Linked DNA regions of Homo sapiens: all the other regions are linked to region 6. The links are contacts of gene promoters, found by promoter capture Hi-C in blood cells and fetal thymus (Javierre and others, 2016). All regions are on one chromosome and are shown on one strand. The core of a region is centred on a gene start or on the middle of the fragment in contact, and the rest is flanking DNA. Distances in the headings are between cores, read along the strand shown.

Region 1 (4,445 bases), core at 1,109-3,608, 560 kb after region 6:
CCTTCATGGAGATTTGTGACCTTCCGTCTGTCTCTTCAATATGGTGCTGGTTGTTACCTGTGAAAGTTTTTATTGCTAGTCCTAGAGAAGAAAAACATATTTCAGTGGTTCTAGGTCTTTAGCTTATTTACATGGTTTTAGAAATCTAAACTCAAGAGTCATCTTCCTAGTCTCAATGAGAAGACAGCTCGTCTTTCAGCAGTGTGGCCCAATGGGGTGAGTTACAGAAAGAAAGCTGTCTTTCTCCTTTATTACTGGGATCTACACGCTGCTGGTGGATGATTTAAGGCTCCTAATATCTTTATAAGCCAGTTCTTTTTAGGGCACCTTAAACTGTTAGTGGTAGAGTTTGCAAAGAGTTTTCTTTGCAGCGCTGTGTGTCCTTCCCACCCATTGGGAGCTCTTAAAGCAGATCACATAATAAGATGTACTGGCCCCTCATATAAAGAACAGCTTTTCGTCATGCTCCCCACTGTGTAGGTGATTTATAGTTTACAGGAAGACAAGACTGCTTGGAACCATGAAGTTCTTGGAGGCCATGGTTGCTTTTACCCACATGACTGCTATAACCCTTGATTCTGTTCTATCAAGTTACTTGCCTTGATATCATCACATGCTTTGCTGTCTGCTTAAAATATGAGTTCATCCCCCTCATACTTATTTGTTTTAGGGACCCAATTGGACCAGTGCTGGCACATGCCCTTCAAGGTACAATTTCTGAAAAGAGACTGCGCTGCCAAACTTATGTGTGCCTTTACCTCAGTCCCCCCAGTATAAGGGGTGACTTAATCTTGATAAATGAGTGACTGAGCACCATGCTAGTTAAATATTGAGAATTAAAAGCCTGAACCCAATGGCTCTATTTTTTTTTACCACCTTCTGACAAGCAAAAATTCTAGGCAGGAGCATGTGAACATTTTGGTCTTCATCTTTCACGTGTGCAATGATAGGTGTATGCAAAATTTTACTTGGATTAATTGTCAAGTTAAAAAAGTGTTCTATATGTATATCTCTTAGGAGAAGGTTTTTCAACCTGAAGGTCAGATTTCATTGCAGCAATTAATGCCATCAAAAAAACGTGGTCTGACAAAAAAGATTCACAACCTTTGCCAGTGGTTCACCTATTACAGCAAGATGTAATACTATCAATACTTACTGTTCTCTGTAATGGGTTTAACCTTTCCCAGAATTGGACATAAAGAATGACTACGATGAGAAGATTATAATGAAGTCTTACTGGCTTTTCCTAGTCTAAAAAGAGTACTTAAGAAAGAGAATTAACATATCATTTCCTTTTGGCTGATTTTTAGCTATATCTGTTTTTGGTTCATAATATTCTATATTATCATCTCACAAATTTTATAAGTCTTGGGAAATAATTTGCCTGCCTAGTGAATTGACACTGTAAAAAGCAAGACGTTATTTTAAACACATAAAACTAATTTCAAGAATCTGTGGCTTACACTCAAGAGTGTACTCGTGGTTTATGTTTGTGTGCAGATTTATGTGCACTCAAGTCTATGTGCATTTGGACTATATTTTATAGTTATACAGCTTTAATATCCAAAGTTATTGTTAGAATAATTTTATTATAGGAATTTGGCATGCCTTACTATTGACATTAAGAAGAAGAGAAGTCTTTCACAAGTCATGAATGAAGAATTTGGAATCAGCCTCAGAATGAGATGCCATAATTATTATAAACCTGTTTTGGTTGTTCAGCCTCCCACAAATATTTATTAATTTGTTTTTTAACCTCTCAATTTCAGGCTCATGAGAGTGTGAGATATTTGGAAATTATTTTACCGTGAATTGTTATTTTATTTCAGGGGACTATGGGGAGTATATTCCTTTGTTTCAAATTTGGGTAACTCTCCTGTGTTTCAGGAACAGCTCTCCCTATTTTTTCACTGCCATCTTCAGGCTTCCTAGCCAGGCTCCAAACAAATGTCATATAAGAAAGAAAGATTAATTATTACATATTGTGTATTGAGAGTTTGTACCCTGTGGTTCTCATCGTGCTGTTAATTTTACTTTTCTTGCCAAACAAAAATAATTTGACATTGATTATGTGCTTTTTGATATTTTCAAGGGCAATTATTAAGGTTATGAGCTCTTTCTTAGGGCACTTGATGCCTTATATGTTAATAGCAAGTGTGTCATATCATTTTAAAATAAAACTATTCAAAGGCTTTATTGTGTTTATTAAGCTTAATTTAAATTGGAATCTGTAATGCTGATTTGGTCTTTTAAAATTATATTTGAAATTATTTGTCCAAAAAAATTAAAATGAATATTTACCCCTAATTTAGGTTTGTCATTCTTCTTGCTACCATTTCACTATATAATGTAGACTGTGCCTTATTTTTTGTTGTTTTATAGGAAATAGTCCAAGTTATTTGGGTTTCTCTAAATTACTCAGTATTAGAGTACACATTTTATGATATGGAAAAATACATGAATAAATATTTTTTAAAAACACTTATCTGAGTGTCTAGAAAGCTTTTAGGTGAGAAACAAGTATCAAATTAACTTATGCACCTGCTTTTAATCTAATTTTGATCTCCATTTTCATTTGAAGAATGTATCACAATTTATATTATTAACTGGAATTTTATCCTTATTATATATAAGTGCTGTCAAGGTCAAAAACTCTAAAGAGACATTTGGAAGTGAGGCCCCATATCTTGCTCCATCTATTTTGAATAAAAATTGGATCAAGATTCTTATCTACATCCTTTATAGGAAGAAAGTCTACTTCTTTCGATATCTGTTTTTTTCTAGAAGTTCTTTTGGCTTTTGTTAACCACCTCTGATCATTCGGAATAAGCTAAGTGATGCTGTTACATTTCCACAGTCTCTCGCTATATGACCCTTGCAGGTCAGCAGTCAAGGGGACCCAGTCTGATGCAGCCACCTTTTTACATGTCCCTGGTTGCCAAGCTAGAGGGGAAAAGAGTCTGAAAGGTCTCAAAGAGACACTGCACCAGGTCAACATGTATTTAGTCAGGACTAGTCATATAGTCCCACTTAAGCCAGGAAATGCAGTTCCATCATGAGCCCTGAAATGAGGAGAATTGGGACTGTTTGGCAAATGACACTAATGACTACCAGAATTTCTAAGGTCTTTGTTTTGTTCAAGCAGAGTATGTATCAATGAACATAAATATTCTCATCTTCTCTAATGATCACTTGATCAATTTAATATTAATACATTTATACTGGGGGCCAAAAATGCTAAAGGTCTCCAGAGAAGGCAAATTTAGTAGATCTTTATTAAATGCTTAAAAAAAAATTGTCACAATTATACTTTAATATATTACCTATATGATTTTATTGTATTATTTAATCATAAAAAAGGAGATTAAGCCAACATTTGTCCTTTCAACTCATGGACAGGAGGAAGTGCTTACTTTCTTGGGTTCTTACTATGTATTATTTAATTTATACCTCACCTCATTTAATTCTCACAGCATCTCTGCAAGGCAAGTGTTATCTGCATTTTACAAATGAAAAACTAAAGCTGGAGAATGTCAAATAACTGGCCAAAGTTATATAACTAATAAGCGGTAGGAAAAGAATTAAAATCTGGGACTCCTTCACTAAAATTATATATTAAGTTTAGAAGGAATATGACCCTTATAAAAACATCAATTTATACTGGCTGTTTTATTTTGCGCTTATTATTTTATAAACTAAAGAAAATAGCAGGCTTGTGATCTGAGAAATAAGGAACCCTTCCTATAAAGAAATCATATCACTATTTTGCTTTTAGGTAATATAGTGATTTATCAAAATATATGTCAAAACTATCAACTCACAGCCATCCTACTTCTTACCCCTAATGAGACTCAAGTAAGCTTATGCTGACACTTTTCCTTGGAATTGAAAAGAAAATGTAGTTACTCTTTCTATGTGCACAACAGTGAACATAGAGTTTATGTAGTCTCCAGTAAGGGATCCAGGGACGGAGAGAAAGTCACATTTGAGTGCTTACTATGTGCCAGGCATTCTGCGTTCATGTGCAGTATCTTGCATAATCTCCACAACACGTCGAATAATAAAGGCTTCAGAACCATGGAGACAGATGATCTGAAGTTTGAATGCCTGCTCCTCTACTCTTGTAATGACATCTGATCCAAGTTTCTCCATCTGTAAAATGAGAATAATACTGTTTGCCTTGCAAGACTCTGATAGAACGTAAATAAGAAAAGTTAGAGAAAAATGAAAACAAATCCTTTTCTGGTATACCATCATAACAGCTACCATTATCTTGAGTGAGGTTCTTTGTAACTACAGAATATGAGTTTTTGTAGGTACTTGGGATCCTATATGTTCATGTTGATTATCGGCTGATGAAAAACTGAATTGGGCCCAATTGTCAGATGATTACTGATCATCATGATAAAACATAATATTTTTTTACTTATGCTCCTTTCTCCTCC
Region 2 (4,160 bases), core at 1,433-3,932, 910 kb after region 6:
TGATGTTGAGAGTTGTTCTGTAAAGCTTCAAATTATGATCATTTAAGATTAGTTACTTGAAACTAACTTAAATAGGCAGTTTTTTTTAAGTGAGAAAAGAGAAAGAAATGATTAATTTGAGGAAGAAAAATTACAGTATTAATCAGTAAAATTTAAAAGTATTTTGCTGAAAGACTCATGTAGCTGAGCTTCTGAAATATATCTTTGAATTACCAGTGGACAAGCCTATAAGGAGACAGTTGTTTTTGAAGAAATTGTCATTAAGGAATAGACACCCAGATGAAATTGTAGGCATGCAAATAATGATGTGAATGAATACATAACAAAAATAAGGACACGCCATTTCTCACAGTTACTGCCAAAGAGAAACTGTGTTGAATTAGTTATTTTTTCAATTGTAGCCAACATACTAAAACACTGATATTCTTAGAATCCTAAAACTTTGGCTTGATTTCTGGCTTCATCAGTTATTGACAATGCGATCTTGCATAAGTCCTTGACTGTCACATTTGATAGAAGGTAATAATACCTATCTCAGAAGGTTCGTAAGAAGATTAAATGTGAAAATATCTGAAAGCACATATTACCTGAGTAAAATAAATTTTAAGTGGTTAAAAATAAACATGAATGTTTTAACCACTTAAAATAAATTTTAAGTGTTTAAAAATAATCACTGCAATGAAGTCATCACTTCATGAATGATTTCTATTTTCTTTTCCATTCATCATTCAGCTGTGGTACATGATGATCTAGCAAATCGTGTAATATTTTATTGGTGACTATTAAATAGAAGTCTCGTGTAGATTTGAAATAATATTTCAGAAGAAGCAAAGGTAGTTTTTATTCTTTATATTTTTATCCACACTTTAATCCACCTACTTTATATTTGTAAAATCTAAAGACAGTTGTCTTGAATTTTCAGCCAGATATCCAGAAAGCCCAGATGGTTTCCTACCCTTATAAAATAAGCATTTACCTACTCTAAACTATCTTTTCTACGAAGACTTGGAATGAAATGAAATTGTAAACACTCCTGTTTCATGTCTTTTGCCACATATAACCTAAAATGAAACCTCTTTAACCAATAAAATCCCTGCTGATAAACCCTGCTAAGACACAGGGTTTTTCCTCCCACTCTTCTTTTTGGAATTTTTCCCTTAATGTCCTTAGGCGGGAAAGCTGAGATATGAGTGTCATTTAACATAATTGTAATTTAAAATTGTTTTCAGCTTTAGAAGGAAATGACAATTTTCAAGAAATGCATATTTATGATATTTTAATGGGGCTAACATGCTAGTTCAAGTATCTTGCATTTTAGAATCTAATATATTTCTTCCAGCCCATCACTGTATAATCTATACTATTTTCTAGACATTTTAGTTCTAGGAAATTTTCTTGTGTAATTCCTTTGATGATTTCACTCCCTCATTTTCTTGTTTGAAAGCTGGTTTTTTTGTTAGATTGTCTGAGTTCTTTACTCTCTGTCTCTTGTTTTCCATCTCTTTTACGTTTTGTTCTACTATCTGGGAAATTTTTTCACATTCTCTTCTAAATCTCCTATTGATTTATTTACTTACTTTTTTGGCTATCCTATTTTTTATTTCCAAAAGCTTTCCTTGTTCTCTGTTCTGTTTTTATAGCATGCTGTTGTTGTTTTATGCTTGCAGTAGTTGTCTGTATTTCATATTGAAGACTTTCCTTAAATGTCTTATGATACTTAGCTATTTCATATTTAAGTGTAAGACTCTGAAATGCTGTATGGAAGCTCTATATGTTTGCGAACACGGTGCCTCAACTGTATAATGATTGGTAATTAAGCTGCTTAAAAAAATAGTATCTCCCAAGCATCAATTTGAATAGATCTTTTCTTTGGGGGTCATTTGGTTCCTCAGAGAAGAATTGTCTTCTTCTCTGTATTAGTCAGGGTTTTCTAGAGGGACAGAACTAATAGGATAGATATATTTATAAAGGAGAGCTTATTACATATTAACTCACAGGATCATAAGGTCCCACAATAGGCTATCTGCAAGCTGAGGAACAAGGAGAGCCAGTTTGAGTCCCAAAACTGAAAAACCTGGAGTCCGATGTTCGAGGACAGGAAGCATCAAGCACAGGAGAAAGATGTAGACTAGGAGACTAGATCAGTCTAGTCTTTTCACGTTTTTCTGCCTGCTTATATTCTAGCCACGCTGGCAGCTGATTAGATGGTGCCCACCCAGGTTAAGAAGGGTGGGTCTGCCTTTCCCAGCCCACTCACTCAAATGTTAATCTCCTTTGGCAACACCCTCACAGGCACAACCAGGATCAATACTTTGCGTCCTTCAATCCAATCAAGTTGACACCTCGGTATTAACCATCACATTCTCTCTTAGTGCTTGTGTTCCAGGAGCAATGTAGAGGAATGGGGCTGGTGTTCCAATAATCACTAGGAAAACTTGGACTTAATCCCTTTGGCTTCAGTCCCTTTTCCCTGCTCATACTTCACTCTGACCAGTGCCCCTGTTCCAGAGCTTCTCATACCTAATAATTCAACTAGAGGTTAAGACATTGGTATCCTGCAGAGTGAAAAGTCAGAAGAAAACAGGGAAGAAATCAGTTAGCTTAGGGTTGTGAGACAGGAAACAAAATCTGGGCACCTAGCCACTTTCAACCATTCTCCTTGTTTTCAGCAAACTTCACTACCAACATCCCAACACCTTGTGCCTCCATGTCTTAAACCTTTCTGGGTGTCTGGAGGGCAAATAAGACTAAAAAGAAAAAGGAAAGGAAGGATATATCTTGTAGATAACTTTCTATATAGGCACTGGGTTATAGCTTCCTTTACTGGGCACTACTCTCCATCAGCTTTCTATCTCCAGAATTTTGTTGAAATTTCTCATCGTCTTTCTTTTTCTTCATTTTTGTTATATATATTTTTTTTATTCCTTGTTTCTAGTATTCAGAGTTGGGAGAAAATGAATTTATTCCATCTAAGCCATCTGGTGTGTGGTGTTTTGTTACATCTGCCCAAACAAACTAATACACTATATAAGACCAAAAAAAACAAAGGGGGTAGAGGAAGAAGAATATAATTAAGTCAGTGGCACATGCTGTCCCAAGATAAAATGCATTTTTTCTTAAAAATTAATTTTACCAATATTGATGGATTATTTTCTGGAAATAGAAAAAGATTGGTAAACTTATTAATTTTTTTGGGGGGTGGCTTCAGGAGGATGAGGAAATAGAGGCAGGTTTAACCAGACGTTTCTTCCTTACTTCATGAAGTATAAATTTAGATTCCCTTCTTAAAGATGCTTCTGTTCCTTATTCTTGCCAGGTCATGAATTTATCCCCAAGGTATAGTACTTTAGTGATTTCAACATGAAAAAATCAGCATGAAGAATTTTCCTAAATTGAAGAGAAACTCAATTACAATATCTTATAGTTTTGCTCACTGAAAAGCATGGGATTAGCCAGCAGGAAAAAACACACCATAATAGTGATAGCCACAGCTGGCACAGTTATGAATTTTTAGGCAGTGAACACACTGGCTCAATGAGTGGAACAATGATTCAGTTAATTTGATCAAGCTGAGTGATGGATCTCTGGGGACATCCCCAGAAGAGGAGAAGGAATATCATGTGTTTGCCACTGATCCTATGAAATGTGGCTCTACCCTTAATTGCAGCATTAAAAGTGAGTACAGAATTTTAGTTTACCATAGTCACTATCCTCCTGGGAGTCATCTGAAGTTTTATACATTGTGTAAAGCTTTAAAATAACTTTATTGGAGTCTGAGGAAAGTCTGATTATAAACTATGTGCTAATGTAAGTAGTCAGAAAGGTAGCTTAGTCCTATTTACAAAATAAGCCTATCCTTTTTCCTTAATTTCACCCTGCTTCTGCCACCTTTTATAGATGCAGGCAGCCATGTTTACAGTACTTGAAAAAGCATTGTGCAATGATGAGCTTAGGCCTAAGTCAGTCTTCTTGAAAATCCCTTACAATTTATGCTGATTTTTTGAGTCTCCCAAATTCTGATGCACATAAATTTCCATCTGCTGTTCTCTTTTTTATGTATAGCATAATTTAAACTGAAAATTTAAACTAAAGCAATCACAATTAGAGATAAAGTAAAATAAAACATTAAATTAGGCTGGGTTTGGTGGCTCATGCCTGTA
Region 3 (4,362 bases), core at 1,154-3,653, 690 kb before region 6:
TTTAATAAATGGTGCTGGGAAAACTGGCTAGCCATATGTAGAAAGCTGAAACTGGATCCCTTCCTTACACCTTATACAAAAATTAATTCAAGATGGATTAGACCTAAAACCATAAAAACCCTAGAAGAAAACCTAGGCAATACCATTCAGGACATAGGCACGGGCAAGGACTTCATGTCTAAAACACCAAAAGCAATGGCAACAAAAGCTAAAATTGACAAATGGGATCTAACTAAACTAAAGAGCTTCTGCACAGCAAAAGAAACTACCATCAGAGTGAACAGGCAACCTACAGAATGGGAGAAAATTTTTGCAATCTACTCATCTGACAAAGGGCTAATATCCAGAATCTACAATGAACTTATCTTTCATTTTCAAATCACTAAAGACAAAGAACAGCTCACCTAAGCTTCCACAAAAGGAGAAAAAAAAGTCACATACATTGGATGAGGGACTAGTAAGGCTTCATATTTCATAGCAAGAAAACTAAAATATATACACAAAAATTATTTTAAATTTAAAATTCTATATCTAACCAAACTTGCACCTGTAAGATATCCCATTCAAGGCTCAGTGCAGGAAACAGAGACAACCATAGTTAGTGTTAACTAGTATGGCAGGGTATCAAATGACTGAAGAAACAGACTTTATGTTGGGCTTTCAGGAATGACTTTGTGAGCTTTGCTAACAAACCAGGCCACCAAAGGACTACTACCTCCTCGTCTATTCAAAAGTTACCACACTCAGGAAGCCTCCATGATCAAAATACACCTGTCCACAGTGGTGCTTTCCAACAAAGCTTGGTGATTCCTCATTAATAAATTTGAAATTTGTGTAAGTGTATCTTATTTGTACAAATTACAGGACTTTTAGAACCCCACTGTGTGGAAGTCTCGAAAATATGATTTTTAGCTTTCCATACACTAAAAGACATTTGGAATTCATGCTGAATAACAAGTCATTGTACCCATGATGCAAAGTCTCAAAAACATATTTCCCAAGTATTCTTTCTCTTGAAGTTGCTGGAGGGCACATTTCATCTCTCTAAACCTAGAGACAGTAAGACATATACAGAAAACAAGAGACACAACAACATGGGCAGAAGATGAGAAGACCTCCCAGGCAAATCCAGGATAACAGCTGTGTCCCAGGCAAGGAGGGCAAACTAGCATTGGAGCAAGTGAGAAAGTTTTGAGAAAGATTTGTTCAGAAAGATGGAACAAATAGAATACCTGAGGTGTCTGCAGTCTTGGTTTTAGTGAATAACCAATTTGAGACTGGATTAATGAGAAACACATTGAAAACTAAGCAAATGATAAACATGACAGTTTCGGTTGGGGAGTGGTGGGAAAGTGAGCAGGAAAGGAAAGTTATCGAAATTTCTACTCACATATATGATATATCCTCAGAAAAGAAAACAAAAAGCATTAACTCCTCTTCTTCTCTGTGGCTTAAAGTTGAAAAACATCAAGGAGTAATAATAAGCATGTTATTTCAGGCATAGAAGCAAGTATTAAAATAACTAAAATTAAGTGAGTGTAATTGCCTTTAGGGAAAGAAATTAGGGGAAAAGAGTGGCATGGATTTCTGTTTTCTGTATCTAATCATATAGAATTGTTTGACTATTACAACTACAAGCATTTAAATGTTGAGTAAAAATTAAAACGTGGGGGAGGATTTGAGAAATAAATTATAGCTCTTTATGTAACCCTATTCTTAAAATAAATCTATTCTACAAAGGCATACAAACATTTTTAAAATTAATCTCACAATCAATTCCTCTTTCAATCTTGGCTACATCTGAAATAGCAAAGGCTGCTACAAGTCTAGAAACAAGATGACATATGATTCAGCAGTAGCTTTAAAAAAGTTCATATGCTATTGGCTTTTGAGAATTCATTAATCATTCACTAGATGGGGCTAACACACTGTGGAGAGGTGATGACTAAACTTCCATTTTGTAAGTAATAACTGCATTTGAAAGGAAATATACTCTGTAGATTTGTTAGGTAAAACTTTGCAATTAGACAACATTATTTAAATTCTATTTTATAATATAAACAGAAATTGTTCACTTGTAATAAAAAGGCAAAGTATTATAGGATTTTAGATTAAAAAAAAAAAAAAAACCTTTAGTTGTTATCTAGTTGAACTTTCCAGTTGTATGTATAGGAAAACTGGTCCAGAGAAAAAGCTCTTGCCTGACATAGAGCTAGGTATAGTGCCCAGGCCAAATATCCAGATCTGCTCAAAGAAAAAAGCCTACTCTCCTGAGCCATATAGGCAAAAAGCTTACATAACGAAAGTGTATTGAGCATTGTGTTGAGACACTGGGTTTAGGGAAGATATAAAGATGAATCAGAATCTCATCCCATTCTGAGGCTCTTGGGAAGGGGTGAGCCTTCACAGAATGTGGGGGAAAATGTAAACAATATGTGGCAAGAGTGCAGGGTTTGGTAAATTAAAAATGGCCAAAAGTTATTTTCTAGTCTTCATATTGAGAGATAAAGCTTAATTTGGTTCCTTTCATGACTGGCCTGGCATTACTGACTTGTTTGGCCTATAGAAGGCAGTGAAAGTGGGATTTGGGATTTCCTTAACCTGGCTTCCAAAGTTATGAAGTCAAGCAGCTTCCACCTGAGCCTTTTAGAATGTTTGCTTTCAGGATGCTTGCTTTTAAAATCTGCTTACCCTCCTGCGAGTTGCCTAAGTGCTGTGGAAAGACCACCTATAGTTGCTGAGACCTAACAAACAAATGAAGAATGCATGCATTATTTTAAAAATGATACTGATACAACTATCTGTAAAAAATCAAAAGCAAAATAGATACCTTTATCCCATTATACTCCCATTATACATTATAAAACATAAATTGCAGGTAAATTATATATTACAATGTAGTACTTAAAATTTAGAAGAAATAACCAAGTGAAATTTCTCTAATCTGTAGATAGAAACACTTTTGTATATAAAAGTAATGAGAAAAAATTACAAAGCAAAATATCTGTCAACTTTAACTATAAAAATAATTTGTTAAAACTTCTAGACATAGAGAAATGACTAGGAGTTAAAAAAAATTATCCAGAATAAAATGTTTCATTAAAAAAAAAGATTAATGAGATATAATTTCCGTCTTAAAAAGAGTGAACAAATTAATGAGAATTATATATATCCAACAAATATAACAGATTCAAAGCAAGGTAAGAGTGTGAAAGAAGAGAGGTTGACTGCATGTTTAATGTGTAAGCTTTTCAAATTAGGAATTAGTCATGGTTTTCTTTTAAAATGTAATCTTAACAAGGGTAGGGTGAGTCCACTAGTGTGTGGGTGCAAGAAAGCTAAACGGATGTTAGACTGCCTTTAAATAGTTTTCTATTGAGAAACCCTATTTCAGCATTGAAATACATAAACTTCCTAATGTTTAATCACTAATATAAACTTTATTAAAATGAAATACATTTTACCCTTATCAAAATACATTTACCAGTTAGATAGGCAAAGACTTAAAAAATTGATAACACTTAATTTTGGAGACTTTGCAGAGAAGCACTCTCATTCACACCCAGTCACTACTGATGACAACATAAACAGGCCTAAACTTTCTTTCTATAAAATTGGAAAACATACATTCTGTTTGAATTGGCATTTAATTTCTGAAATTAATCATAAACGTTGATGTATTAATACACAAATATGCAATGTTTTCTTTACAAGGATATTATATTATAGCATTATTTATAATAGTAAAATATTTGAACCTAAATGCATAACAACTGTAGAGTGGACACAATAAATCTTTACGCTAGTCTCCCCTTGGGTTGTTTACCCACACTTTCATGTGTTAGAAACCATCCTTTACTCTTGTCTACCTGTAAATAACAAAAGAATCCTAGCAGCCACTTTACACAATGACCTTATGCCTTAAACCTCATTAAAATGAGGTGAGTGTAATCACCTTCAGGAAAAGAGTGTAGCAGGGAATGTTGTATTTTGTATCTAATCATGTAGATTTATATAACTATTTCAATTACGTGAATTCATATGTTGGGTAAAAATTAAAATTTGGGGGAGGATTTGAGAAATAGGTTACAACTCTTCATATTACCCTAATTTTAAAATAAATCTGTTCCTCAAAGGCATGCAAACATTTTCCAAAATAATTCCCAAAGAAATTCATGTCCTGACTCTGGCTATATCTAAAATAGCAGAAGTTCAGACCTCACCTAAATTGGTTCAGTGTTTTGTAGACCAGGAAGAGGTTACCAATGACTAGAAAAATAGAATGATTACAAGCTAAATTCCAATACATGATTATTCGTTGAGGCTGCAAATAATTCCTCCAACATCTTTTGCAAGTCAAAT
Region 4 (4,264 bases), core at 198-2,697, 890 kb after region 6:
ATTTTATATATGCTACTATCATCTAGGAAACCTATAATGAACATACCTTCATAATAGCATTTTCTAAAAATTATGTAATATTTAAAACATTTTTTAAAAAGCATTAAAAATAACATCCATTTATCTACGACTCAGCTTACGGAAGATACCCTGACACAAGCCTTTTAAAACTGTGTGTTTACAGGTTTGTTTTCTCCATTAGATTGTGACTTCCTTGGAAGTGGGGACTGTGTGTTGACAGAGCCAAGATTTTGCAGTAAGAAATCAACACTGTTGTTTAATATAATGGAATCCCTCAATTCAGGTATAAATACTGAGATTCACAACGTGCTAGAGGCCATAAAGTCAATAAATCATTTAATTCAGTTCAAGTACAAAGAAATTTTGCTTTATTTGTAACGGATTTACAACTTTATAATAACTGATATATTTATTCACGATAAAACAGAAAATACAACTTTCGGTCCACATGTTTTCAGGTCATTATTAAAACATCCCAAGAAGGCATTCGTTAAGCAAATTAGCTACTGAAGTCTCCTGTATTATGTTAAATGCTGGGAATATGAATTCCAATTACACAAATTCCACGCCTTAATGAAACTCAAGTTTCTTAAGCACACAGAATTGATCCAAGGTTTGGCTGTTCCCAGATTTAAAGAACATATCCCACTCTAGATCAACTAAGGATAGGGAAAAGTGACCATCACACGTAAGCACTTACGTAGCCCAGAGTTAATTAGTTATTTTTCCCTTCAGAAAAGAAACTACTAGTAGGGAGTAAGAAAGAAGTTGTGTTGTGTGTGTAAATGTGTTTTGAGAAGGAGTGGGACAGAGACTAGACTAAAAGGAAAAGAAACTGGAAACCCGGGTTTAAGAAGAAAACTAAATGTAGAGTGGCATATGAGAATCACATTTGTTCACGCATCTTTTACACAGCTTTTCTGCACAGAGCTGTAATCCTTACACACCACTTAGTAAAGGGCCTTACAGGCCCTGTGTTTCTTGGCTCCAAAGAAGCTTCAGTAACCACCTATTCCGCCTCTTCCGCACCGCCCAGCAACCAGTTAGCGTGCGACAACCCCAGCCCCAAGTCCCTCCCGCCCGCCTCATAAATAAAAGCGGCCCCGGGACGCTGGACTGGCGCGGAGGAGGGCAGGTCAACCGAGGAGCAGACACCGTGGGAAACGCTGCAGAGTACGCGTCCGGGCCAAGGGAAGGGTCAGCCTCAGCCTCCACCTCAGCTTGGCCCGTACAGTGAGGGCTCTGGTACCAAAAAGACACCAGAGAACCCAGCTCCCCGAAAGCAGCGGGTACTCCCGAACGGCTTCCCAGCGCTTTTAGTCTTTCCGCACCCGCCCCCACCCGAAGTTACCTTCCCAAGTGACATCGTAAAGCTCTGAGACCTTCGCCATCTTCCCAGAACCTAGAGGCAGCGGGGTGAGAGGGCGGGGAGACGCAGTCACGTGACCCGCCACCGGGCGGTGGAGAGTTACGTAGCTTTTTCTCATTGGCCAAGAGAGCAGAGGGGGCGGTATCCGCCACGCACGTGCACGCGGCTCTGCGGAGGGGCTTTCGGGGAAGGGGGCGGAGCGAGCTGGGCGGAGCGAGCTGGACGGTGGACGGAGCTAGGTGGGCGGTGCGTGGCGCTCCCGCAATCTCAGGATACCCTGGCTGCTGGCGGGGCTACGGTGCTGGCTCGGGGTGAGGTGTGTGTGTGTGTTGACGTGGATTTTTAACAAATGCTGGGTTTTTAGTGTCCGTCAATCCTGGCTTTTCAGTTTTTTCTACCTAGGCTTGTTCATTCTCTTCACACTCCCTTAAGTACCCTTATTCTCTTCATGGCCGGCCGCAGTGCAGCCTTCTGCACGAATCCCTTATTTGTCCCCAACTTTCCTCCTTCCGTAATGGGATTTGCTTTCCGTTCACTTTTTAATCGACTAAACGGATAAACTCCAAAGTTTTGAGAGACTAAGTGGGATTCTTCCTTTGCGCTCTGAAGTTCCCTTGAATGCCCTCGCGCTAGCTTATACCCTTCATTAACGCTCGTCGTGCCTGTCATTGCTTCATCCATGTCTGCATGCCACACTAGGTTTCAAACTGTCGCGAGTATGTAAGTACTTATAAGGAATGAATGTACGAATGAGACCTTCACAGTTCCTGAACTTCGCTCCTCATTACTCCTGGGTGGATGGGGGAGCCTCCTTTCCCACCAGACTAATTGCTTTTAGGAAACTTTGGACGTCATCTCCTAGACTTAAGGAGAAATGTCTGGACAGGAAGTAAAAAATTTGAGGATGATAAGCGTATATTTAGTATTTGAAGCAATGGGGACATGAGATTGTAGAGGAAATATGTAAGCTGAGAAAAAACTAAAAATCACTGCAATGCAGCCGAAAGTTATTGGTCAGTAAAGAAGGGGCAGTTGATTTGAGAAGTAGAAATAATACTATCCCACAAGTCAAAAGAGTGGAGGGTTTTTTTTCTCAGCTTTATTGAGGTGTAATGGACAAAAATTGTGTATATTTAAGGTATACAAAGTAATGATTAGATGTAAATATACACTGTGAAATGATTACCACAAGCAAGCTAATTAACACATCTATCACCGTACATATTTCCTGTGTGTGTGTGTGTGTGTGTGTGTTGAGAACACTTAAAAATCTCTCAGCAAACTTCAAAGTATACAATACAGAATTATAACTGTAGTCACCATGCTGTACATTCGATCTCCAGAACATATTCATCTTACAACCAAAAGTTTGTACTATTTGACCAACATCTCTCCATTCCTCACCTGTCGGCTCCAGTCAACCGCAGAGGTTTTTTTGTTTGTTTGTTTAAAAAAAGGAAAAAAACCATCAAACCATAGACCCCAGAGAAGTCACTTAACAACAGAGAAGACTAGTGAATGTATATACTTGGATTCAATTCTGAATGAGCTGGCATTCTTTCTAAACAGACTTTTTAAAAATCTTTCATTCAAAAAGTTAAAAAATACTCAGAAATTCACATATTTTAATGCTCCAGTAAAGCAACCTGGTGCAATAGGAAGAACAAGAACTCCCAGATCTGAATCCAGGCTCTACCTTTCAGTAGCTGGGTGACTTTCAGCTTATTTCTCTCTAAACATCAAAAAGGCTCATATATAAAAATCTAATAATATGTGTGTAAAAAGAAAATAGCTACCTTGTGTTGTTAATCAAGATAAAAACAGATGCTGCAGCTAAAGCCCCTGCGTGGCACTCTCATGGAGGTACCATCCTATGTCTAGAAATACTGTTTATATGCTGATCAGTCCCAAACTGATAAACCTTCCCAAAACCCAGTCTGGTTGCTTGACGTACTCAGATAGCTAGCTGATACGCATCTCAAAGTTAACATATCCCACACAGAACTGCGGATTCCTGCTGTCACCTTCCGCATTCCCACCTTGTTTTTCCCTGTCATAGGTGAGGAAACCATTTACCTAATTGCACAAGTTAAAATTACAGGAAGTACCTTTGATTCCTTTTTTTGGCACCACCTCCCATATCTAGTCTATCAGCAAATTCTATATTGCACTTCCCAAAGTTCATCTACTTTTCATATCTATTGCTATTACCTTAATCTAAGCCACAACTACGTCTCTTCTGAATGATTGTGATAGTTTCCTAGCCACCTTTGTTTCATTCTTGCTGTGTAAAATCTGTTTTTTTATACAACAACCCTACTGGTCTTAAAAAAAAAATCAGACTGCAGAAGTCCCTTGGCAATAGGCCTCAAATGGCTCCCCATGGCAATAAAAATGTACTTCAAACACTTTACCATGGTTTACAAGGCTTTACTCAACCAGGTGACATTTGTCTACCTCTCCTACCTCATCTCCTACTATTCTATTTCTCCTCACTAGCCGCCAGCCATTCTCATCTACTTCCTATTCCTCAAACAGACCAAGATCCTATCTGCCTTGTATCTGGCATTTGCCCAGCTGTTTCCTTTTCCTAGAAACCATCTTCCTTTTGTCATTCATATCTCAGTTTTAAGTGTATCTACTCATAGACCTCTCTTGACCATCCAATAAAAAGTAGCCCTTAGGTAATGCCTATCCATCATAATGACACTTATCACTATTTGATTTTTTGTTTGTTTACTTGCTTACTTTCTGTATTTTACACCACTTTAAGCTGCTTCAGAGTACCAACTTTGTTATTTTAACCTTGGAACATCCAGCCTAGAAAAATACCTGGAGACAGTAAAAATGTTTATTGAATGAATGAGTCAGATT
Region 5 (4,317 bases), core at 1,370-3,869, 850 kb after region 6:
GTCTGTAGATGCCTCTGTATATTTTTAGTAAAAATAAATTTAAATATATTTATTATAAACAAATACCATAAATATTTGCGGTGAACAGTTGCTATTTTAAAAACTGATTTGTGTCTAAATGAAATTTAACTTTCAAGTCTCTTCTATTTTGTTGAAACATGTCAAATACTGTTGAAGGTAGCATAATGGTTGTTTATTATGAAAAGAGAAAAATAAAAAATTCTAACTAAGGTAATGATAGAATAGGAAAATTTTAACATTTTTGTTTCTAAGGATAGTTTTAATTTTCTTATTTTTTTCAAAATTAAAAATAACTACAACCCCTTTAATCCCTACTCTTTATGATTCTTTAATATTCTTTCATGTAATTTACTATTAAAGGATTCAATAAATATAACTTGCATAAAAGTTAAAGTGTCGTAACACATATTTATCTTAAGGCATTTTATATGTAAAAATCTCAATTATGTCCTATATCAAAACAAAAATTTTACAAAGAAATATTGCTGAACTTTGGAGAATGACATATTTTAAGCAAGATTCATCAGAAGGATATTACAGCAGATAAAACAATTCAAATAGCCCACTGGAATGTACAGCAAAATCCAATTCGACAATATAAACAAAGTCAAAATAATCTGCTTCGGTCAGCTACATATGCTGTGACTTTGCTATCACCAGTAAGGAGTTAACTAGAAACTGAGTTCTTAAACAATATATCCACTGTGAGTATAACAAAATGAAGTTAGAATCTTCATATGCAAGTTTAATAAATCATCATGGTTTATTTAACAAGGTTATACTACATTAGAGTTTTATATATATACATGTATATGTGATATGAAGAGACTGATGTACAATCAATAAGTCTTAAATCTCTCTTCCATGGATTTCCCCCATCTCCCCACTTAGCAGTAAAAGGCATTTTTAGGTTTATATAAACACATTCTTTACAACTGCCTTCTTAACAGAAAATTACTGTAGTATATAAATAGCACTGAGCATTTAGTAAATAAGTTACAGGCCAATAAGTTCAATTGTGCAGTTGTGAAATCTAATGTCAAAGAGTTTTTGAAACCTTAAGACTGGGTGATCTGCAATGTTTCCAACATGTCTTCGACAGCCTTAAGAGAATATTTGGTTTCCTTCTTACTTCGACCTGCAAACTAATTAAAAAAAAAAAAAAAAAGCTCAATTAGGCTCAATTTCAGTGGCAGGTTAAAAATGACAATCTTCACACTGTTAATGAAACTTAACATTGACTATTTTATCACTAGTAGGAAATCAAATATATTCTTTGCTTTTTCAATAAGAATAAAATTTGAGTATTAAGGACATTTTCCTTTAAGGTCTTACCTTCAGCTGAAGTGTACAGAGAGTTCACTGCACACTTGGCCAGTTTAAGTGTTTACATAATATAATAACCCATAAAATCATGTATTTGAAACTATCTTATTCAGACCAAAATAATGAAATAAAAAGTATAATTTTAAAATGCAATTTAGCTTATATTTATGTAGTGTAGCAGTGTGAACCACTTCCACTTGTCTGATGTCTAAACAGATTTTTACAATTTCAAACAAAGGTACAATACAAATACAAGTTATTTCACTAAACATTTTAAAGTTGCAAGTACTCTCTAAAATTATTTAAAGTAGCTCATAATTTTTTTTAAGTTTCCAGATTTATTAGTTAACTAAATGATATGGTTCTGCAAAGAGCTGTCAAGTAAAAACCTATGCTACACATTAAAACAATGTAAACATGTTTTAAAATATGCATTTCTACTTTATTAATTGTAATTTATTTACATTATAAAACTAATTGGGATTGGATTTTACTATGAAAACAAAATAAATACATCAATATATACACAAAATATACCCTATATTTGTGTATTTAAAAGCAAATTCATGGCATATTAAATTCAATATCATACACATAACCGCTGGAGGGAAACACTGTTGAATACCACATGCTGATTTCAAAATGAGTTTGTTAACTGGACTGACAATTCCCATCATTTATCAGTCTGATTTAAAACAAAAGATTTACTAGATAAGTAAGTGTTCCTTGATGGAGATGGGAGAAAGTTTATTGTGTGTGTATGTGTGTGTGTGTGTATATATATATACATATATATATTATATATATGTATATATATTAATTATATATTATGTATATATTTTATATATATATGTTACCTATATATATTATATATATGTATATATATTAATTATATATTATGTATATATTTTATATATATATATGTTACCCATTTTCTCCCTGGTTAAATATGATTAAAATACTTGGTATTAGCAACATCTAGTGTTTTCAAGTTAACATCAAACCACTCAATACATTTTCAAGTGAATGATCATTTCTTCAAGTAACAATGCTGTCTTAAGCACTTAGTACTTGATTTATGATGTGTTTCTTGTCTTCTGTAATTAACTTAATTTGGCAAACTTCTCATGACCTGTTCAGAAAGATTAAGTGATCAAACACAGGTAACATCATAGAAGTAACAAGCTTCAGGAATTGGTAACCTGTCTCTGACCCCTCTGGCTACAGCTTAACATTATGATTCCCTCACTTCCTACACTCTAAACCATTAGATTAGTTTCTGTAGCTGAATCCTGATTTGAAAAAGTAAATAAAGGATGTTTCTAGGGGAAATGCCAGAGGAAAAAGAAAAAAAGCTTCTCATAAAAATCAAGATCACCTTGCCTTTCAAAAGGCATCACGAATTTAAGGAATTCATATGTTAAATATGGTAACAGCAATATCACATTTAAAATTTTGTCTTTTTATAATTTCCCCTGAGGACTAAAGGCTGTGAGGCATGCTTATTACTTCTGTTATCCAGTTAATAAATTCACTTACACAAGGATTTACCAGAAACAGAAAGCTTTTTCATTTACCACCATTTATGAAACATAAATAGGAACGGTCCTAATCAGATACTTAAAGGTCTAATTCTGAGAAAAAGTTTTATGGGTTGGGGGAGGGGTACAGAATAGGACATCACATAGTAACATTACCACGTAACATTTATTCTAATTGCTTTTAAATAGCAAAGTAAAAATAAAAAAAATTATGTAGAGCTAAAACCATAACATGTATTTTTAAATACAGTATTTTTCTTGGTTTATACTTAAACATAAAAATAATACAGTGTGATCTTTTAAAATTAGCTAATTTTAAAGAGTCAACTGAGATGGTGTCAACATTACTCACAACCAGTGCAATTTAGAATAAACCAAATAAATTTACTTGTGTCAGAACAAATAAAAGAAAGTTGGAAATACAAATCTATCACTTCAAATTTAATCTGACATGCAATTATTCTGTCTATTCCAGAATTGTATGGCAATTTAACTGATTAAGTCAGAATCATTTTTTCCCTCAAATCATGATTTAATTTTCTGTTTCCCAAAAGGATAGTAACAGAATCACTGCTGCAATCATAAATATCATATAAATCACTAGCACAGATTTACCAGTGCAACAAAGAAGGATTTATCTGGAAAATCATTGTGAGTAGGTTCACATTAAAGTTTTTCATGTGCATTAATCAAATGTGTCTGCTTCTACTGAACATGCTAAACCAATTACCTAATTGACGAGCAAATAGTAGCCATATTCTGTTTCATCATTAAGTGGAAACAAAGAAAGAAAAGCAGTTCTTGAAACCTAATTTTCCCTAATTTATAAATACGTAGAAAAATCCCATACGAAATATTATATACTCTATACCGGTTTATATTCCTAGATATGATTAAGAAATTCTCACTGAGATCCCAAAGATTTACCTAGTTATCAAGAATGTCATTCTCTGAAAGTTATATACTCTTTTACATTATTCACAAATACTGTATTTTTGTTTTCATACAGTTAGATTTTGCTTAAGTAAATCTTTCATAATTCTCTGTAAGATCTATAAGAAAACTCACCAGAAAAAAACACAAAAACAACCAAACAATAAAAACTTGCTTATCAAATTCAGAGGTCAGTGATTCATGCATTGTAATAACTGAGATACCTTGCTTGGGCTTAAATTTACCTTTACATAATTTGTGGAAAATACATGGGTAGACAAAGTAATAGGAAAAATGAAATGGACTGTAAATGAATGAATCTCAAAAACATGCTGAGTGAAAGAAGCCAGACACAGAAGAGCACATAACCTATGAACTCATTTATACAAAGTTATAGCACAAGCAAAACTAATGTTTGGTGATAAAAATCAGATCAGTGCTTGTCTGTCTCCCAGTGGGGGATGAGGTTGACTGCAAAATGGCAGAAGGAAAGTTT
Region 6 (3,970 bases), core at 961-3,460:
TCCAGTGACATGTTTCATTTCTTGTTTAGATTCTTACAAGCTAACTATTAAAGGCGGTGAAATGTAATTTATTAACACAATCTATTACTTACCGTTCTCTTTCTCCAGTTTCTATCAACTTTTGGTTAATCGCTGCTCTCATCTGCGCATCTTTGTTCATCTTGCTAACCTGGACATCAACATGTACTTTCAGATATAGAACATTTACAAAGCATTTTCTGCTAAATCCTCTAGGCAGGCATCCTAACATGTTTACCATTCTATTAACTGAAGGGGTGATACATTTCAAGTGTGTTAATAATATCATTACTCTTTATTAAACACTTATGTGCTTGGCACTGGGCTAATGCAGTGTGGGTTTGCTTTTTTTTAAACATCACATTTAATTCCCAGAACGTATTGTTACATATTTATATTAATAAAATAATCTGTATTTTACTGATGAGGAAACTGAGGCACAGAGATAGAAAGTGGAAAGGCAAAATTTGAACTCAAGTACTTTGACCCTAGGAGCTCCAAAACTGAACATAACTGCCGATCACTTCTGCAGAGACTGCATCCAAAAATTGGGAGAAGTCATACATACTAAACATCAAAAAAAGATTAAATACTATTAGTAAAAAAATAAAATTACCAGGCCGGGCACAGTGGGTCACACCTGTAATCCCAGCACTTTGGGAGGCCCAGGCAGGTGGATCACGAGGTCAGGAGTTCAAGACCAGCCTGACCAAGATGGTGAAACCCCGTCTCTACTAAAAATAGAAAAATAAGCTGGGCTTGGTGGCAGGTGTCTGTAATCCCAGCTACTCAGGAGGCTGAGGCAGGAGAATCGCTTGAACCCAGGAGACAGAGGTTGCAGTGAGCCGACATTGCGCTGCTGCACTCCAGCCTGGGTGACAGGGCAAGACTCTGTCTCAAAAAAAAAAAAAAAAATTAATTAATCAAAAAAAATAAAATTACTAGATAAGGCTCTAAGTGTTTTGCTTTACTCTTCACTAGGATGAACCCACAATTACAACTGCTAAACCTAAGTGTGTGGATGTGTGTGTTTACACACACACTGCTGGTGGGATAAGAAGAAAACAAATCTCAAACTAATTCCTAACTTACAAAGTCCTCAATTGTCAGTAAAAACAGACAACCCAAACCAAAATGATGTTGAAAGAAGAGGAAAGTTAGGTTTTGAAAGCGTTAAAGCCACTTAAAAGTTTAAATTAAATAAAACTTGGCGTAAACTAACGTTTTCCCACCTAATCTGTCACTAACTTGAGATTACTTTTGTTGTCTTCCATCTGGCCTATTGAAAATTCAGACTGGCAATGAGTTACCAGAGTTGATTTTTTTTTTCTTTTTTGAGAGGAACAGGGAAAAGGAGAAGTTGAGTGAGAACTAGGAAATGCTTGCTTTTGTAATTGGAGGCTAACATTTTCAAAATAACTACAAGGTCTAGTCAGTACCACTCCTGGAATATTGAACTTGATCTCGTCTTGGCTCCTAAAATACGGATAGTGACCTTGGACAAGTCACTTAATTCTTAAAGGCCTCAGTTTTCTCACTGGTAAAACAAGGGCGCTAGGGTATCCCTCCCAGTTCAGACATTCTTAGGGAAAATAGAACAGGGCGGAGACAGCGGGAGAGGCGGGAGAGGAGGAGCCAGAAAACAAAGCGAGGACTGGTTTCAGGCCAACTCCGGTAGCACGCCCTGTCGGAGAGCCCTACAGGCCCGCGAGCGCGGGTCGGGGACGCTAACGAAAGACAGTACATCGAAAGGAGCCTGGGCTGGGCCCGGGTCCCGGCCCTGAGGACCACGGGCATAGCTCACCACCATCACCGCGGGCGAGGGCCGTCCCTTCCCAGCGACGAAATGACCCTTGCGCTGAGGACCGTTACCTACCACACTCTTCGGCTGCCCGGACTTAGACCCTCAGTAGCTCGGGCACCTAAGCACACAGAAAGCTAGAACACGCATTTCCGGGGCGGGGTCTCGCCACCCTGCCTATAATGTGAGAATTTAACCAGCGCGGGCCGCCTCCTGGTTGCTAGGGCCTCTGGGTAACAGAGTTCAGACCTTGCCGTCGCGCGCGCGTTAAGTACCAGGAGAACTACATAGCCCAGCATGCAACAGTCTCAACTTTTTCACGGACACTACATTTCCCAGAAGGCAGTTCGCACCGCAGTGTTTTCTGGGATGGGAACCACGCCGCTTCCCAGTCTCTGTGCGAGGCGTGAAGCGCGGACCTTTCAACAAGGGCTTTATTAATTCTCACGCTGCGGCCCTGGAAAGCGATGGAGGTGGCGGCTAATTGCTCCCTACGGGTGAAGAGACCTCTGTTGGATCCCCGCTTCGAGGGTTACAAGCTCTCTCTTGAGCCGCTGCCTTGTTACCAGCTGGAGCTTGACGCAGGTGGGAAGCGGCGGCGCCCTTCGTACTCCGTTCCTTTCCCCTTTCGGCTGCCTCCGGCCTGACCCTTCCCGCAATTTCTTTCTTTCTGACTGGCAAGCGAAGCCACCGTGGCGGCTTGCGTGGACTCACGGAGGCCGCTGCTTCTGGGGAATGATGCCCATCCCAGAACCCGGTGGGAGCCGCCTTCGCGCGCTCTTCGGTAACGGGACCCTGGGCCCCCTCCGTCAGCAGCCCAGCCTCTGAGGTCTGAGGTCTGAGGGCTGGCGTGCGGGTAGTGCCTGGGGCTCTGGCTGCTGTGTGTCCACAGCCTGGCTTCTGTTTCGGGGGACGCTGAGAACATTCCTTCCTCCTGGAGCATCGCTTGTGAACGTGTGCGTTGAGAAACCACACCTCCTTGGAGGACCCCCAGTTCCTGTTTCCTCTGACCGAGAGCCGTTTCTTAGAAGAGAAACTACATTCCAGTCATAGCATTTTTAATTACTCAGTTCCTGGCACATTAAGAACTCTGGTAGAGAACATCTCTAGAAGATAGTGAGGAAAAGTGGATTTACTCCCACACTGCTACTCCTTGCTTTATCTGTAGCTGGTAGAATATCCTTACTCTTGTTTTTACAACTTAACGGCATTTTCGTTATGATAGAGCCCAGAGATCTGCATTTTAAAATTCACACCCCTGCTGATTCTGATGCATGTTTTCAGAGATCACACTTTGAGAAATAGTGATCTACAGTTAATTATAATAACAGACATTAAAGTATAAAATAAGTTTATGCTAATTGATTTATTAAATTCAGAAATATTTACCGAGTACCTGTTTTGTGTTACGTCCTGATAATATCAAAATGAACAAGACACCTTCCGTAACAAAAGAGGACTATTAGCTAGTTAGGAAGAAAATTGTAAACAGATAATTGTAAAACAATATGGGAAGGCAGTGATAGGGATATGTACAAAATACAATGGTAGTACTTGAATATCTTTCCTAAACTAGTCTGGGGATCTGGGAAGGCGTCTTGGAGGAGTTAATATCTAAGTTGAGCTTTGAAGGGTAGGTTAAGAGTTGACTAGGATGAGAGAGGATAAGCTTGATTTTTCTTTTTATTTTTTTCCTTTTCCTCTTTGCCACCGTGTTTCTTCCAGTCACCCCATGTCAGTAGATGGTATCACCATGTTTAGTTAGTGCATTAGAAAGTGAAGCCAAAATTCAGTGTCTCAAAACAAGAAGCAGTTATTATTGCTCACAAGTCTACGGGTCAGCTGAGTGGTTCTTCTAGTCCTAGTTGGGCTCATTGATGCATCCTTGTTCAGTAATGGATCTGCTGGGAAGCTCTGCTCATTTGGCTGGACTTCCTCATATGTTTGGAGGGTGGGGGTAGGGTCTCAGACTATAAGCTTGTTTAAGATTCTTTCACATGGTCTCCTCTTGACTTTTCTCCGTGTGGTCTCTTATCCTTTAGCCGACTAGACTAGCCCAGGTTGGTACCAAGAGACACTTGTGCCAGAGTCATTTGGGGTTTATTTCTTTTAGCCACTGTCTGCTTGGTAGCAAGTCCGGTCAGCTCCACA

Evidence for each region. Contacts are between HindIII fragments. The CHiCAGO score rates a contact against its expected background, and 5 or more counts as called.
Region 1: a contact is called between a fragment that was not itself captured here and the fragment with the promoter of NUDCD1 in region 6, in 1 of 17 cell types (fetal thymus). The highest score is 6.8, in fetal thymus.
Region 2: a contact is called between a fragment that was not itself captured here and the fragment with the promoter of NUDCD1 in region 6, in 6 of 17 cell types (total CD4 T cells, naive CD8 T cells, total CD8 T cells and 3 more). The highest score is 8.9, in total CD4 T cells.
Region 3: a fragment that was not itself captured here is called in contact with the fragment with the promoter of NUDCD1 in region 6 in 1 of 17 cell types (M1 macrophages); the score reaches 5.1 in M1 macrophages.
Region 4: the fragment with the promoter of EMC2 here is called in contact with the fragment with the promoter of NUDCD1 in region 6 in 10 of 17 cell types (naive CD4 T cells, total CD8 T cells, non-activated CD4 T cells and 7 more); the score reaches 32.7 in naive CD4 T cells.
Region 5: a contact is called between a fragment that was not itself captured here and the fragment with the promoter of NUDCD1 in region 6, in 2 of 17 cell types (total CD8 T cells and non-activated CD4 T cells). The highest score is 5.8, in total CD8 T cells.

What each region holds. Positions count from the first base shown.
Region 1 is chr8:108,776,836-108,781,280 of GRCh38, reverse strand. TMEM74 (transmembrane protein 74) reads left to right here. Exons shown (of 2, transcript NM_153015.3): 2 at 1-2,307. Among named protein-coding and RNA genes, the nearest start is that of TMEM74, 8.5 kb to the left of the region's middle. The HindIII fragment of the contact is 292 bases long and covers 2,213-2,504 here.
Region 2 is chr8:108,425,494-108,429,653 of GRCh38, reverse strand. The region is part of intron 1 of LOC105375704 (a long non-coding RNA gene); the gene reads left to right. Among named protein-coding and RNA genes, the nearest start is that of EMC2, 16 kb to the left of the region's middle. The HindIII fragment of the contact is 2,140 bases long and covers 1,613-3,752 here.
Region 3 is chr8:110,024,217-110,028,578 of GRCh38, reverse strand. No RefSeq gene overlaps it. Among named protein-coding and RNA genes, the nearest start is that of KCNV1, 51 kb to the right of the region's middle. The HindIII fragment of the contact is 219 bases long and covers 2,294-2,512 here.
Region 4 is chr8:108,440,807-108,445,070 of GRCh38, reverse strand. EMC2 (ER membrane protein complex subunit 2) reads right to left here and starts at 1,447. Exons shown (of 11, transcript NM_014673.5): 1 at 1,373-1,447. The coding sequence starts at 1,412. It overlaps LOC105375704 (a long non-coding RNA gene), which reads left to right and starts at 1,599. Exons shown (of 3, transcript XR_928530.4): 1 at 1,599-1,701. RefSeq lists a silencer at 1,494-1,613. The HindIII fragment of the contact is 5,303 bases long and covers 1,020-4,264 here.
Region 5 is chr8:108,483,361-108,487,677 of GRCh38, reverse strand. It overlaps EMC2 (ER membrane protein complex subunit 2), which reads right to left. Exons shown (of 11, transcript NM_014673.5): 11 at 1-1,166. The coding sequence ends at 1,080. Among named protein-coding and RNA genes, the nearest start is that of EMC2, 42 kb to the right of the region's middle. The HindIII fragment of the contact is 170 bases long and covers 2,535-2,704 here.
Region 6 is chr8:109,332,327-109,336,296 of GRCh38, reverse strand. It overlaps NUDCD1 (NudC domain containing 1), which reads left to right and starts at 2,210. Exons shown (of 10, transcript NM_032869.4): 1 at 2,210-2,404. The coding sequence starts at 2,287. It overlaps ENY2 (ENY2 transcription and export complex 2 subunit), which reads right to left and starts at 1,950. Exons shown (of 5, transcript NM_020189.6): 1 at 1,823-1,950; 2 at 93-169. The coding sequence starts at 1,828. RefSeq lists enhancers at 1,669-1,918, 1,184-2,106, 2,289-2,338, 2,469-2,518. The HindIII fragment of the contact is 6,990 bases long and covers 1-3,490 here.